Linked DNA regions of Homo sapiens: region 1 is linked to region 2. Evidence: promoter capture Hi-C in human tissues and cell types (Jung and others, 2019). All regions are on one chromosome and are shown on one strand. Each heading gives the region's core, a stretch centred on a gene start or on the middle of the fragment in contact. The rest is flanking DNA. Distances are from core to core; before and after follow the strand shown.

Region 1 (6,777 bases), core at 553-3,052, 1.2 Mb before region 2:
TTTTTAATGCACTGCTAAATTCTATTTGCTAATATTTTAGGCACAAGTTTTCAATCTATGTTCATAAATGCAATGAGAATGTATATATGTTTTTCCATTGGTCCTTTTTCAGGCTTCAGTATGAAGTTTATCATGGCTTCATAAAATGCCCTGGAGAGCTTTCCAAATTTTTCTGTAGTCTAGAATAATTTTAGAGCGGCAGTTCTCAAAAGTGCGGTCCATTGAGGGGATTGGTGAGGTCAAAGCTATTTTTACAATAACGCTAACATTATGTGCCCTTTTCACTATGTTGACATTTGCACTGGAGGTACAAAAACAACAGTCAGTGTGCTGGTAACATTAGCATGAACCAAAACACCAGCATGAAACCTTACCAGCCGTCATAGTCTTCACTGCCATATACCCATGAAAGAAAAATTAAAAAAAAAGGCCAGTTTCACTTAAACATATTTTCAATAAAGCAGTAGAAATTATTAATTTTATTAAATCTTGACACTTGAATAAGCATCTTTTTAATATTCTGTGTGATGAAACAGGAAGTACACAGAAAGCAACCTGCTGCATACAGAAGTATGATGGTTGGCTTTAGAAAAAGCATTGTGCAATTGAAATGCAAACTGAACTAGCTTTTTTTCCCCATGGAATATTTCTTTTACTAGAAAGAATAAGCAATAGACAAACTATGGTTCTTCAGAGTTGGGTATCTGGTGGACATTTTTTTTCTTTTTATGACATCTCACTTGTGTGTGTGTGTGTGTGATTTTTTTCTTTTTTTTTTATACTTTAAGTTCTGGGATACGTGTGTAGAACGTGCAGGTTTGTGACATAGGTATACGCATGCCATGGTGGTTTGCTGCACCCATCAACCCATCACTTACATTAGGTATTTCTCCTCCCCTAGCCCTCCACCCCCTGCAGGCCCCGGTGTGTAATGTTCCCCTCCCTGTGTCCATGTGTTCTCATTGTTCAACTCCCACTTATGAGTGAGAACATGTGGTGTTTGGTTTTCTGATCTTGTGATAGCTTGCTGAGAATGAGGGTTTCCAGTTTCATCCATGTCCCTGCAAAGGACGTGAACTCATCCTTTCTTATGGCTGCATAGCATTCCGTGGTGTATATGTGCCACATTTTCTTAATCCAGTCTATCACTGATGGACATTTGGGTTGGTTCCAAGTCTCTGCTATTGTGAATAGTGCTGCAATAAACATACATGTGCATGTGTCTTTATTGTAGAATGATTTATAATCCTTTGGGTATATACCCAGTAATGGGATTGCCGGGTCAAATGGTATTTCTAGTTCTAGATCCTTGAAGAATCGCCACGCTGTTTTCCACAATGGTTGAACTAATTTATACTCTCTGGTGGACATTTTTTTGCAAATGAACAAAGTGAGCCTGTCATTTGAGGAAAACACCAGACAATATTTGTTGCTAGTGATAAAAGTGAGCTTTCAGTAAAAATTAGCATTTTGGAAAGTTGCACCTGTCACCATGAGCTTGATGTCTGCCCAGGGATTAAAAGGCTTTTCTGGCCAGGTGTGGTGGCTCACGCCTGTAATCCTGGCACTTTGGGAGGCCGAGGCAGGTGGATCACTTGAGGTCAGGAGTTCAAAACCAGTCTGGCCAACATGGTGAAACCCTGTCTCTACTAAAAATACAAAAATTAGCCGGGCGTGATGGCACACACCTGTAATGCCAGCTACTTGGGAGGCTGAGGGAGGAGAATCGCTTGATCCTGAAGGGCAGAGGTTGCCATGAGCCGAGATCACTCCAGCCTGACGACAGAGCAAGACTCTGTCTCAAAACAAAACAACAAAAAAGACTTTTTTTCTGATGAGAGGGAGGAGGTGGTATTAATGAATGTGATTTTTAAAATACTGTGTAATAAAATGTGTCAACATTTGGAAGATCTGTATACATCACTGAGCTTATACTTTCCAAATGACCAATGGATTCTGCTACAAAATCACGTATGAGTAAAAGATCCATCCAAAATTCAAGATAGACCAGTGAATTTTAATGTTTCAGATTCCACGTTGCAACTAACTCTTAAAAAACGACTGCTACTCAAAGTTGGAGGTAATATCAAAGAAGAATTTCCATGAGAATTAAGATACTTTTCCCTGTTCCAACTATGTATCTCTGTGAGGCTAGATTTTCCTTATATGCTTCAACCAATATAATATACTGCAATAGATCGAATGGAGAAGTAGATAGGAGAATCCTGTGTTCTTCCACTAAGCTAGACATTAAGGAAGTTTGCAACAGTGTAAAATAATGCTACTTTTCTCATTAAATTTTTTGAAACTATAATTGCTTTTGACAAAAACATGTTGTTTGTATTAATATATAAAGTGTTCATTATATGATTTTAAGTGAATTAATTTTTTAAAATTTCTGTTTTTATTTCTAGTATGACAAATATCAAGAGCTATAACCCACACAAAGCTTTTTGGGGGTCCTCAAGAATTTTTAAAAATGGAAAGGGGTTCTGAGACCAAAAAGTTTGAGAATAACTTGCTCAAATCATGTTAGAGTATTTCTTCTTCAAAGGCTGCATAGATCTCAATAGGAAAACATCTGGATCTGGCGCCTTTATAAGTGGGGTCTACAATCACTTTGCTTTCTCTGTGTTCCATTTGCTTATTAAAGTTTTCTACTCTTTCTTGGTTAATTGTGGTAACTTAGATTTTTGCTAAGAAATCATCCATTTCTTCTAGGTTTTCAAGTTTATTGCCAGTGAGTTGCAGGCAGTATTTCTCACATTTCCTTCAAGCACTTTTGCATTCTTGGTTACTTCTTCTTCTTCTTCTTTTTTTTTTTTTTTTTTTTTGAAACAGAGTCTCACTCTGTCACCCAGGCTGGAGTGTAGTGGCGTGATCTCAGCTCACTGCAACCTCCGCCTCCTGGGTTCAAGTGATTCTCCTGCCTCAGCCTCCCGAGTAGCTGGGATTACAGGTACGTGCCACCACACCAGCTAATTTTTGTATTTTTAGTAGAGATGTGGTTTCACCATGTTGGCCAGGATGGTCTCGATCTTCTGACCTTAAGTGATCTGCCCATCTCGGCCTCCCAAAGTGCTGGGATTAGAGGCGTGAGCCGTGGTGCCTAGCCTCCTTTCTTAATCTAATCTTGAATTTTTTCTCTTTTTCTCTTGACCTCCCTCTTTAATTCATTTTATTTCGAATATACCACTAATAAAACAGTATAAAAGATTTGGGAGAAAGAGAATAGAAGGACAGATAACAGCAGACAAGAAATGGCATGGAACAAGAAAAGGGCACTGGCTATGGTATATGGGCTGCCCCCCCATCCGATTACTGTGAATGTTCAAGAAAAGAAGATGGCACTGGTGGTTGTCAGCTGGTGTCAGTCTCAGCCTGGGCATCACAGGGCTGACTGATATTTGCAGATCTACCAGGATCCAAGATCTTCTCAACTTTTAACATTCTTTTTTGTTTTTTTTTTTGAGATGGAGTTTCACTCTTGTCACCCAAGCTGGAGTGCAATGGTGTGATCTCCGCTCACTGCAACCTCCACCTCCTGGGTTCAAGCCATTATCCTGCCTCAGCCTCCCAAGTAGCTGAGATTACAGGTGCCCATCACCACACCTGGCTAATTTTTGTATTTTTAGTAGAGACTGGGCTTTACCATGTTGGCCAGGCTGGTCTTGAACTCCTGACCTCAGGTGATCCGCCCACCTGGGCCTCCCAAAGTACTGGGATTATGGGCATGAGCTACTGCGCCCGGTTCAAATTTTAACACTCTTAAATTCAATTCTGTTGGTGTTACCAGACTTGGACCAGGCCAGGGAGCAACTCTCATTAACGATATCCACAAAAATAACTGATGTAAAAACTAGAATACCAATTTAAAATTCCCTACCAAACGGATAAGCGTATACCCATGAGTCCAGAACAAAACATTTCTTTACTTTGTGAGCAAATGGTTCTGTTTCTTTGGGAATCCTCTTGGAGATGCATCTGTAAGGAAATGAGGAAGGCTGGGTTTGGCAGAGGGAGAAGCTGGACTGCAAAGAAGTTGCAGCTGAGACCTTCTGTCATGCTCCTGGGGCAAGCTCTGGAGCTAGATAGAATGACCCTTTAGAGTTGAGTTGAGGCAATGGAGTTGGGCTTTTGAATCTCTACATCAGTCATTGGTTTGGGATGCCCCTTGAAGCAGTGGTAACCCTGGCTGAGGTGGGTCCCTGCAGCTGAGACTGGTCCCTGTGGCCGAGACTGGTCCCTGTCGCCTGGGGTCATGCCAGTGCAGGGTGTAGCTGTGTGCCCTCAGCAACCCTTGTTCCCTGCAGATGAGGGACAGGTGGGTTGGCCTGAAGAGAATATCTGGAGAGAACATCATAGTCCTCACTGTGGTGGTTGTAACATATTGGTTGTAAGGTGCATCCTGAATTCAGAAACATTGAAATGTAAAAAAAAAGAGAGCACCTTAAAAATGCCAAAATATGGTAGTAGGCTTCAGTGGTATTTTTTGGGACAGGGATACAAGCCAGACTCTAGGAAGAACCAGAGTAGAGAATTGGAGATCTGGGGGTGGGGGAGCAGGGATTATTCTTCACGGTTTACTCTTCATGTGTCTTCTTGCAACTCTATTTCACTCTTTTTTCTTGATATTCCAAGTTTCTTTGCTAAACAATTTTCTGGTAATCATCCAACATGGGAGGTGGATCATGGTCAGTGCTGTGCTGGAAATATTTAAAATATCGCCTCTTGGGGGAAAAAAAGGTGTGCACATATATTCATATAATTTTTACTGACATAAAGCATGCAGAGGACACAATTTATAAATAATAATAAACTGTACAATAATCTTTATTGTAAATTCCATATAGCCCATTGATTCTCCCAGAATGCTTTCATTGATTTTTGCAACACTCCAGCATTCCTAGCCAACCTATGGCTATAATTGATGAACATGTCCAGCTCTGTCTGACATGAACGCTGGCTGATATTTTGGCTTCAATCAATGAATAAGACAAAAGTGAACAACGAAGATGTATGTCAGAACTTCACTTGTTTGTCAATGACAGGAGAGACTCAATTGAATCAGATGATAGTTTTCAAATACTAGAAGACTATTTCCTCAATTTTTTTGTCCTATTTACTAAGTAATGGTTACAGACACAACACTTTTACATTTAATTTTTCTTTGGGAGGCCAAGGCTGACAGATCACTTGAGGCAAGGAATTCAACACCAGCCTGGCCAACATGGTGAAACCCCATCTCTACTAAAAATACAAAAATTAGCTGGGTGTGGTGGCGCATGCCTGCAGTCCCATCTACTCGGGAGGCTGAGGCAGGAGAATCGCTTGAGCCCAGGAGGTGGAGGTTGCAGTGAGCCGAGATTGTGCCACTGCACTGTAGCCTGGGTGACAGAGGGAAACTCTGTTTCAATAAATACATAAATAAATTTAATTTTTATCAGTGGTTCTCCACTAGAGAGAGATTTGGTTTCTCAAAGGACATTTGGCGATCCAGAGATTTTTTTTTTTTGGTTGTCACAACTAGGGAAGGGATGTGATTGGTGTCTAATGACATGAGGCCAGAAGCATCCCTCAGTAAGGAACTACGGGGCCCAAGGCTGAAAAACCCTGATCTGTATTGTGAACATTTTCTCCATAAACTTTAAAGTTTAGACACCCAACAAAACAATAGATCAACAGTTTGCCAATTTCTGTGGTGTAAATACTCCCAGTGTGATGGTTAACTTTCTGTGTCAACTTGACGGGCCTAAGGGATGCCCACCCAGATCCCCGGTAAAACATTATTTCTGGGTGTGTTTGCGAACATGTTTCTGGAAGATATTAGCATTTGAGTTGGTGGACTGAGTAATGCGTGGGCATCATCCAATTTGTTGAGGGCCAGGAGAGAAGAAGAAGGGTGGATTCTATCTCTCTTTTATTTATTTATTAATTTTATTTTTTGTAGAGATGGGGTCTTGCTATGTTGCCCAGGCTGGTCTTGAACACCTGGCCTCAACTGAGCCTCGGCCTCCCAAAATGTTGGGATTACAGGCATGAGCCACCATGCCTGGCCTGTCTCTCTCTTCTTGAGCTGGACATCGCCTTTTACTCCCCTTGGACATCAGAATTCCTGGTTCTTGGGCCTTCAGACTCTGGGACTTATGCTAGCCCAGCCAGCTCAACCTCCCACCTTCCTATTCTCAGGCCCCCAGACTCCAACTGAATTATGCCCCTGGCTTTCCAGGTTCTTCAGCTTGCAGAAGGCAGGATTGTGGGACTTCACAGCTTCCATAATTGCGTGAGCCAATTCCCATAATAAATCTCTTCTGATAAATACCTATATATCCTAGCGGCTCTGTTTCTCTGGAGAACCCTGACTAATACAGTCACTGTGGTTGATTTCCAGTTGCCAAGGTGGGGTCCTCAAGCCTGGAACTGGTAAGAGGTCTGCAGGAGCCACCATTTTATAGTATTTCCACCACAAAGATACAACAGTCATAAATAACTCCAAGAGCATAAGAGTAAAAATGTAGTAAAATAAGAATTAGGTTCTGTGTATTTATTAACTTCGTTTATAATATGATTTATTTGATTACAAGTAAACTCATTTGATTTTTAATAATTGCTAAGTTTGACAACTGACACAAAATTCTCAAAAATGTAACAATTGGCTCTTGTGGGACGGTATGCACCAGCCTGGCTGAAGTGGCTATCACTCTGGAATTCACATTTTATATATCCTGAGTCTTGGAAGGATCCACTCCATTCCAGTTTTAGTTTTCTAGGGAAGGG
Region 2 (6,033 bases), core at 519-3,018:
GTTTTTGCTGTGACAGAGGATATGGTAAAACTCTCTGTCCAATTTCAGAATGCAGACGACAGACCCAAGCTTCAGTCATTTCATATAAACCTGCAGGGTGTCAAATGAAACTATTTTTTAAATGATGTTTTAACCCTATCTTTGCTGGTTGGCTGTGTTCTTGCTAAGGAGGCTTCTTAGATTCTGTGAAGCAAGCCAGACCAAAAAATAATTTGTTAAACGGATGTGGAAAAATGATTTAAAAAATCAGAATACTTTAGTGATGGATCCCCAAAGACTTCTCAGTTTTTTAAGTCTGGTCCTAAGCTACTTGGCTAGGAAATGACCAAAAATGGTCAAGAGATATCTTTGGAGTGTACCTTTTAGAAAACCTTTCCTCTACACTGCATCTGCAAACTGGGATTACCGGGAACTTTGAAATAATTGTACAGCTCCATCTAATCAGAATACTCAACAATTAAAATTCACTGATGCCAAAAATGGAAAGAAAATAAGTAAATAACTCTTAAGAGCAGTGGCACCATTTTTTTTAAATAACTTCCTCCTCCTGCCTTCAACTCTCAGAAGATTATCACAAAAACATCCATATTATGAATAGTTTTATAGGTCAGTTCCCTTCCGTACCACTAGGCATACACTGATGATCATTTCCAAATTTTTCCAGACTGCTTTGATATCATGTGATTCATTTTAAGTAGAGGCAGTTTTGTGAATTCCCTAGCCAAACTTTTTAGATTGTGGATTTTCATATAAATAAATTGACAGACCGGTGGGGGTGGAGGGGGAAATAGAAAAAGGAAAAAAATGTTTTTGTAAACTATCTTACTCCTAATCTGTTATTGAGTGAGCCATTTTTGGCTCTAAGGCACCCTAGCCCGTTAATTCAAGGTTACCTTCGGTCATTGCCATGGCTCCAGTGCTTATTATCATTGCCTCATCCACATCTTTTGAGAACACTCTGAGAATCTACACGGCTTTAACACACTTCTTCGCACTAGTGAGAACGCCCGCAATGCCTTATTCAGTAAGGTTAAATGAGTTTGTTTGCTGAAACATTCGCCACATGATCCCAACGCTCCTCCAGCTCCATCCCGTCTATAATCGCAGAGCGAACACTCACTCACCTTGGGCGTGTCAATAATTGATGGTCTGGGGATGGAAGCGTGAAACACCACTGCTTCACAGTCCGCCCCATCATCCAGGGACCCGGGCACATCTTCAGGCGTCTCCGCGGGCTGGGCCGCAGTGCGGTGACTTGAATTCCGATTCGCACTGCCATTTCTCTCTGCATGGGTGCTCGAATCTTGCCTTTTCTCTGGAGCTCCTTCTGCGCTTGGGTGTCTTGGCTGTCTGCCTGCTTTGGCCACAGGCTGCACACGGACGGTGGAATGAGTATCAGCCACGCCGGACTGATTGAAGGAAGCACTCTCCCTCGTATTCCCAAAACAGGCGAGCAGAGCTGAGCACGGAAATGGATGCATGCTTCTAGAGGGAGACTTCAGTCTTTTGGTGAGTCTTGCTTTCCACGTGGACATGACTTGCAGTGAATCATTGCAAAGTTCAAACGGGGCAAGGAAATTTTCCAGGGGTCCACATCACCTCCACTTTGCTTATAGGAACTCTTTCCAATTGCCCGAAGAGAAGAACTTGCTAGTGGTTGCCCCTAAATAGAAGTTGGGATGGCAAGGCCACCTTCCCTGAGAGTCACTTAGCCGCTGGGGCCCCTTTGAAAGTGTCCATCCTGGGCAATTTCGCGCTCTTCCTTCTGTGATGCTGTCAGTGGCTAAAGAAAGCTGTTGGGGAGGCATGTGAGTGGCTCCGGTTACAGTTCCTAGGCAGGGCAGACGCTTCAGGGTAGGGTAGTGCCAAGTCAATAGACAATTGCTTCAGGTTACCTAGGAGGCATAAAGATAATGTAGCCTGATAGCATCTGCCATAATAGCGTCAGCCTGCGTATCAATAACATCATAACAGCAGCAAAACCTTCTTTGGTTACCCCCCTTCAAATATTTATTCCCCCAAACAAAACAAAAACGACCCAGTTGTCCATCACAAATGAAGACCCCTAGAAGGGCCACGACCCTAGCAGCTGTTTCATTATTAAAATAGGAGGTAGACTCAATCTTTCGCCTGGAGAGATGCGGTGTGATGTGTTTTCTGAATCTTTCTGGACTTTTCGGGATCTTTCCGGAATCTTCCCGGAATCTTCCCCCCACCCTCAAAACAAGTTTCCTGGTTTCAGGATCCACATTGCCTTTTCTGATAACTATAAATAGGTCTTTGGTAATTTGATTTTTTTTTTTTTACTAGCTAGGCTAAGTTCTTGATTAGTTTTCAACAATACCAAAAAGAAAAAAGAGAGCCCTACATTAACAATTATCCTTATGTATTATGTTATTATGTGTGGAGGTATTATGTACATGTGAAGTATTCTACCTATATGGTATATATCACCTACTTTCAGAAAGTAACTCCTTTTTGAACATAGATCTTCTGTTTCTCAACACATTAATATGTGAATGGTGAAAAATAATAAATTATAAACATATTCTAAGACAATTCAGAATCAAGATTTTTCCTTAGCCAACTGTCTGCTAGGAATGTTATAGAAATGTAATACTGTAATGCTTTTACCGTTAATAGTGATTTTAGGGTCAAGATTTCTGGGCATGTTACCCACTCTTAATTAATTTGTTTGCTCTCTCTTTTAATTTAATGTCAAGATGTGCTCTTTGGCCCAGACAGGTGGTAGTTATTATATTATGGCACTGATTCCCGTTTTACAGAGGCAGAAACCAATTCTTTGAAATTTCATGTGACTAAGGCAAGTTTATGCCACTAAGAAGGGCTTGTTGGGTGCCCGAGATCCCTGTTCTCCTATCTGTCCTCTGAGTCTCATTCTATCTAACAATCATTTTATAGATGTAATGGCCATACGGGAAATATTGTTCTAAATGGACAGTCATATTCATAATACAAAAAGGCAGATATGGCTTTAGAATGAGTGGATATGGCATCAAATGCACATTTTATTTTAGTCTCTACTGAAAGTTAGAATATAGAAAGCTTCCATTTATTTAGAGGTTACCGTGTGGCAGGCCCCGTGCTATCCAAGCTGTTTCTGGCTTCCCAGGGTTGTGAGCTCATTCTTTTTTCATTGTGTCCCAAGTGCAAGCTGTCCAAATTCCCCACCCATAAGAAATCAGGGGGTTCAGGTTTCTACCAGGGTCCCCCCTCCCAGATATTCCTGGAGACCCCTCGGAACTGCACTTTGTCTCCCATTTGACTTGGTTGCTACAGTCCACTCGGGTCGGGTCGTGCCATGCTGTGCCCCTCCAAGCACACGTATAGTAAATCGGGGCTGTGATGCTGCATAAGACATTTTTGAAGGCTTGGAGGTAACAGGAAGGGATTTAAGAAAAGAAAAATGCACTCTTACACCTGGTTTCATTCACTCATTCATATATTCATTCAATTATGTGTCAAGCCCCTTTTGGAACAGAGAGTCAGCAGTTCACAGTGCAGCTTGCGAGCGGCCACATTCAGGAGACCGCTGAGGAAGAAAGCTCAGAGCCACTTTCTAGGTCTGCGGAGGCCCTGGGCTTGCATCCGGGCTCTGAGGACCACCTCTCCTCGCTCAGTGGGTGTGCTCAGAGGCACGCATGAACTCATCGGAGTTCCAGCACTGGCCCGCTAAGAACAGTAGACTTTCTGATTAGTGTGTTGCTAAGTCTGACCTAGAATAACACTCAGTAACAGGCCATGGTTATTGAGTGTTTGGTATCAGACATGAATCTCAGCAAATTAACTCATTTAATCCTCACAACCCTAGAAGAAAGGTGATATTATTATTCCCATTTTTACTCATTAGAAAACCAAGACACAGAAACTTAAGTAACTTGCCCAAGGTCACAGCACTGCTTAAGGAAATGAGAAAAGGTGATGAGTCCAGCAACCTGGCCCCAGAGCTCATACTTTTCTCAGTATGCAATCCTGCTTTCCAAAAACACACATGCACGTGCACACACACAGATACATACTCCAGAGAGGACATTTCCAATGACCTTGATCCAACACTCTACCTCTAAGAAGTTATTTTGTAATGACGATCTTTAAAAAGTCAGGAAACAACAGATGCTGGAGAGGATGTGGAGAAATAGGAACACTTTTACACTGTTGGTGGGAGTGTAAATTAGTTCAACCATTGTGAAAGACAGTGTAGAGATTCCTCAAGGATCTAGAACTAGAAATACCATTTGACCCAGCCATCCCATTACTGGGTATATACCCAAAGGATTATAAATCATGCTACTATAAAGGCACATGCACACGTATGTTTATTGTGGCACTATTCACAATAGCAAAGACTTGGAACCAACCCATATGTCCACCAACAATAGACTGGATAAAGAAAATGTGGCACATATATACCATGGAATACTATGCAGCCATAAAAAAGGATGAGTTCATGTCCTTTACATGGACATGGGTAAAGCTGGAAACCATCATTCTCAGCAAAATATCACAAGGACAGAAAACCAAACACCGTATGCTCTCACTCATAAGTGGGAGTTGAACAATGAGAACACATGGACACAGGGAGGGGAACATCACATAGCAGGGCCTGTCAGGGGGTGGGGGCTGAGGGAGGGATAGCATCAGGAGAAATACCTAACGTAAATGACGAGCTGATGGGTGCAGCAAACCAACACGGCACATGTATACCTATGTAACAAACCTGCACGTTGTGCACATGTACCCTAGAACTTAAGGTATAATAATTTTTTTAAAAAAGAATTTATTCTGTAGATATACTTGTGCATAAATGTATGTCCCAGAATGTTCGCAGCACCAGAGTTTGTAATCACAAAATTAATTGTTAATCAATAGAAGACAAGTTCATATATAAGAAAACATCTGGCTGGGCGTGATGGCTCATGCCTGTAATCCCAACACTTTGGGAGGCCTAGGTGGGAGGGCCCTTTGAGGCCAGGAGAGTTCAAGGCCCGTCTGGGCAACATAGTGAGCCACCGTGTCTACAAAAAAAAAGTTTTAAAAATCAGTTGGGCATGGTGGTGAGTGTCTTAAGTCCCAGCTACTTGAGAGGCTGAAGTGGGAGGATCGCTTGAGCCCAGGAGGTGGAGGTTGCAGTGAACCGAGATTGCCCCACTGCACTCCAGAGCCTGGGTGGCAGCCCCTCGCAAGCTGCACTGTGAACAGCTGATTCTCTCCAGAAGGGGCTTGGCACATAATTGAATGAATAAATGAATGAGTGAATGAAATCAGGTGTAAGAATGGATTTTTCTTTTCTTAAATCCCTTCCTGTGACCTCCAAGCCTTCAAAAATGTCTTGTGCACCATCATATTTTAAGACTCTGTCTTAAAAATAAAAAATTTAAAAAACGCAAAGAGATCACAAAGCATCACAAGACATATGAGAAGAACTGTTACCGGAAAGGAGTGGGGTACTGATCCAGACCCCAAGGGAGGGTTCTTGGATCTTGCACAAGAGTTCGGGGCAAGTCCACAGAGAAAAGTGAAAGCAAGTTTATTAAGAAAGTCGAGGACTGAAAGAACGGCTGCTCCACAGGCAGAGCAGGGCACTCCTGAAAGCAAGAGGAGGAAACACCTTAGGTGCAATGCTTGTTCATATTATATATAAGCCCAAAATCATGAGGGAGATGTACTCTGCTACAGGGGCTTATGACAAACAGTTGTTAACCTTGGTGTAACTACTGTCTTCTGCAAGAATCTGTATTATTATTTTTAAAGAAAAACTTACTCTTAAACCAAGAATGTTTTTGTTCTTAAGATATCGGGACATCAGGACATTTCCTGGATCTGTTATTTCCCGGGTCTGTTAAGTCCTGAATCTCTTCAGTGAACTTTATTAACTTGTTCCCTTAACTGTAAATATCCTGTTGACTAAGAATGCCTCACCTCCTGGGAATCCAGCCCAGCAGGTGTCAGCCTCATTTTACCCAGTCGCTTTCGAACCAAAGTGACTCCATCTTGAATAGGGGCTGAGTAAAA

Evidence for each region. The method cuts DNA at HindIII sites, captures the fragments that hold promoters and counts their contacts. A contact is called where the count stands out against the background at its distance.
Region 1: a contact is called between a fragment that was not itself captured here and the fragment with the promoter of FAM107B in region 2, in 1 of the 25 tissues and cell types used here (lymphoblastoid cells).

Annotation. Positions count from the first base shown.
Region 1 is chr10:13,576,483-13,583,259 of GRCh38, forward strand. No RefSeq gene overlaps it. Among named protein-coding and RNA genes, the nearest start is that of PRPF18, 7.1 kb to the right of the region's middle. The HindIII fragment of the contact is 7,679 bases long and covers 1-5,642 here.
Region 2 is chr10:14,773,129-14,779,161 of GRCh38, forward strand. FAM107B (family with sequence similarity 107 member B) reads right to left here and starts at 1,769. Exons shown (of 5, transcript NM_031453.4): 1 at 1,125-1,769. The coding sequence starts at 1,535. The HindIII fragment of the contact is 6,601 bases long and covers 1-5,686 here.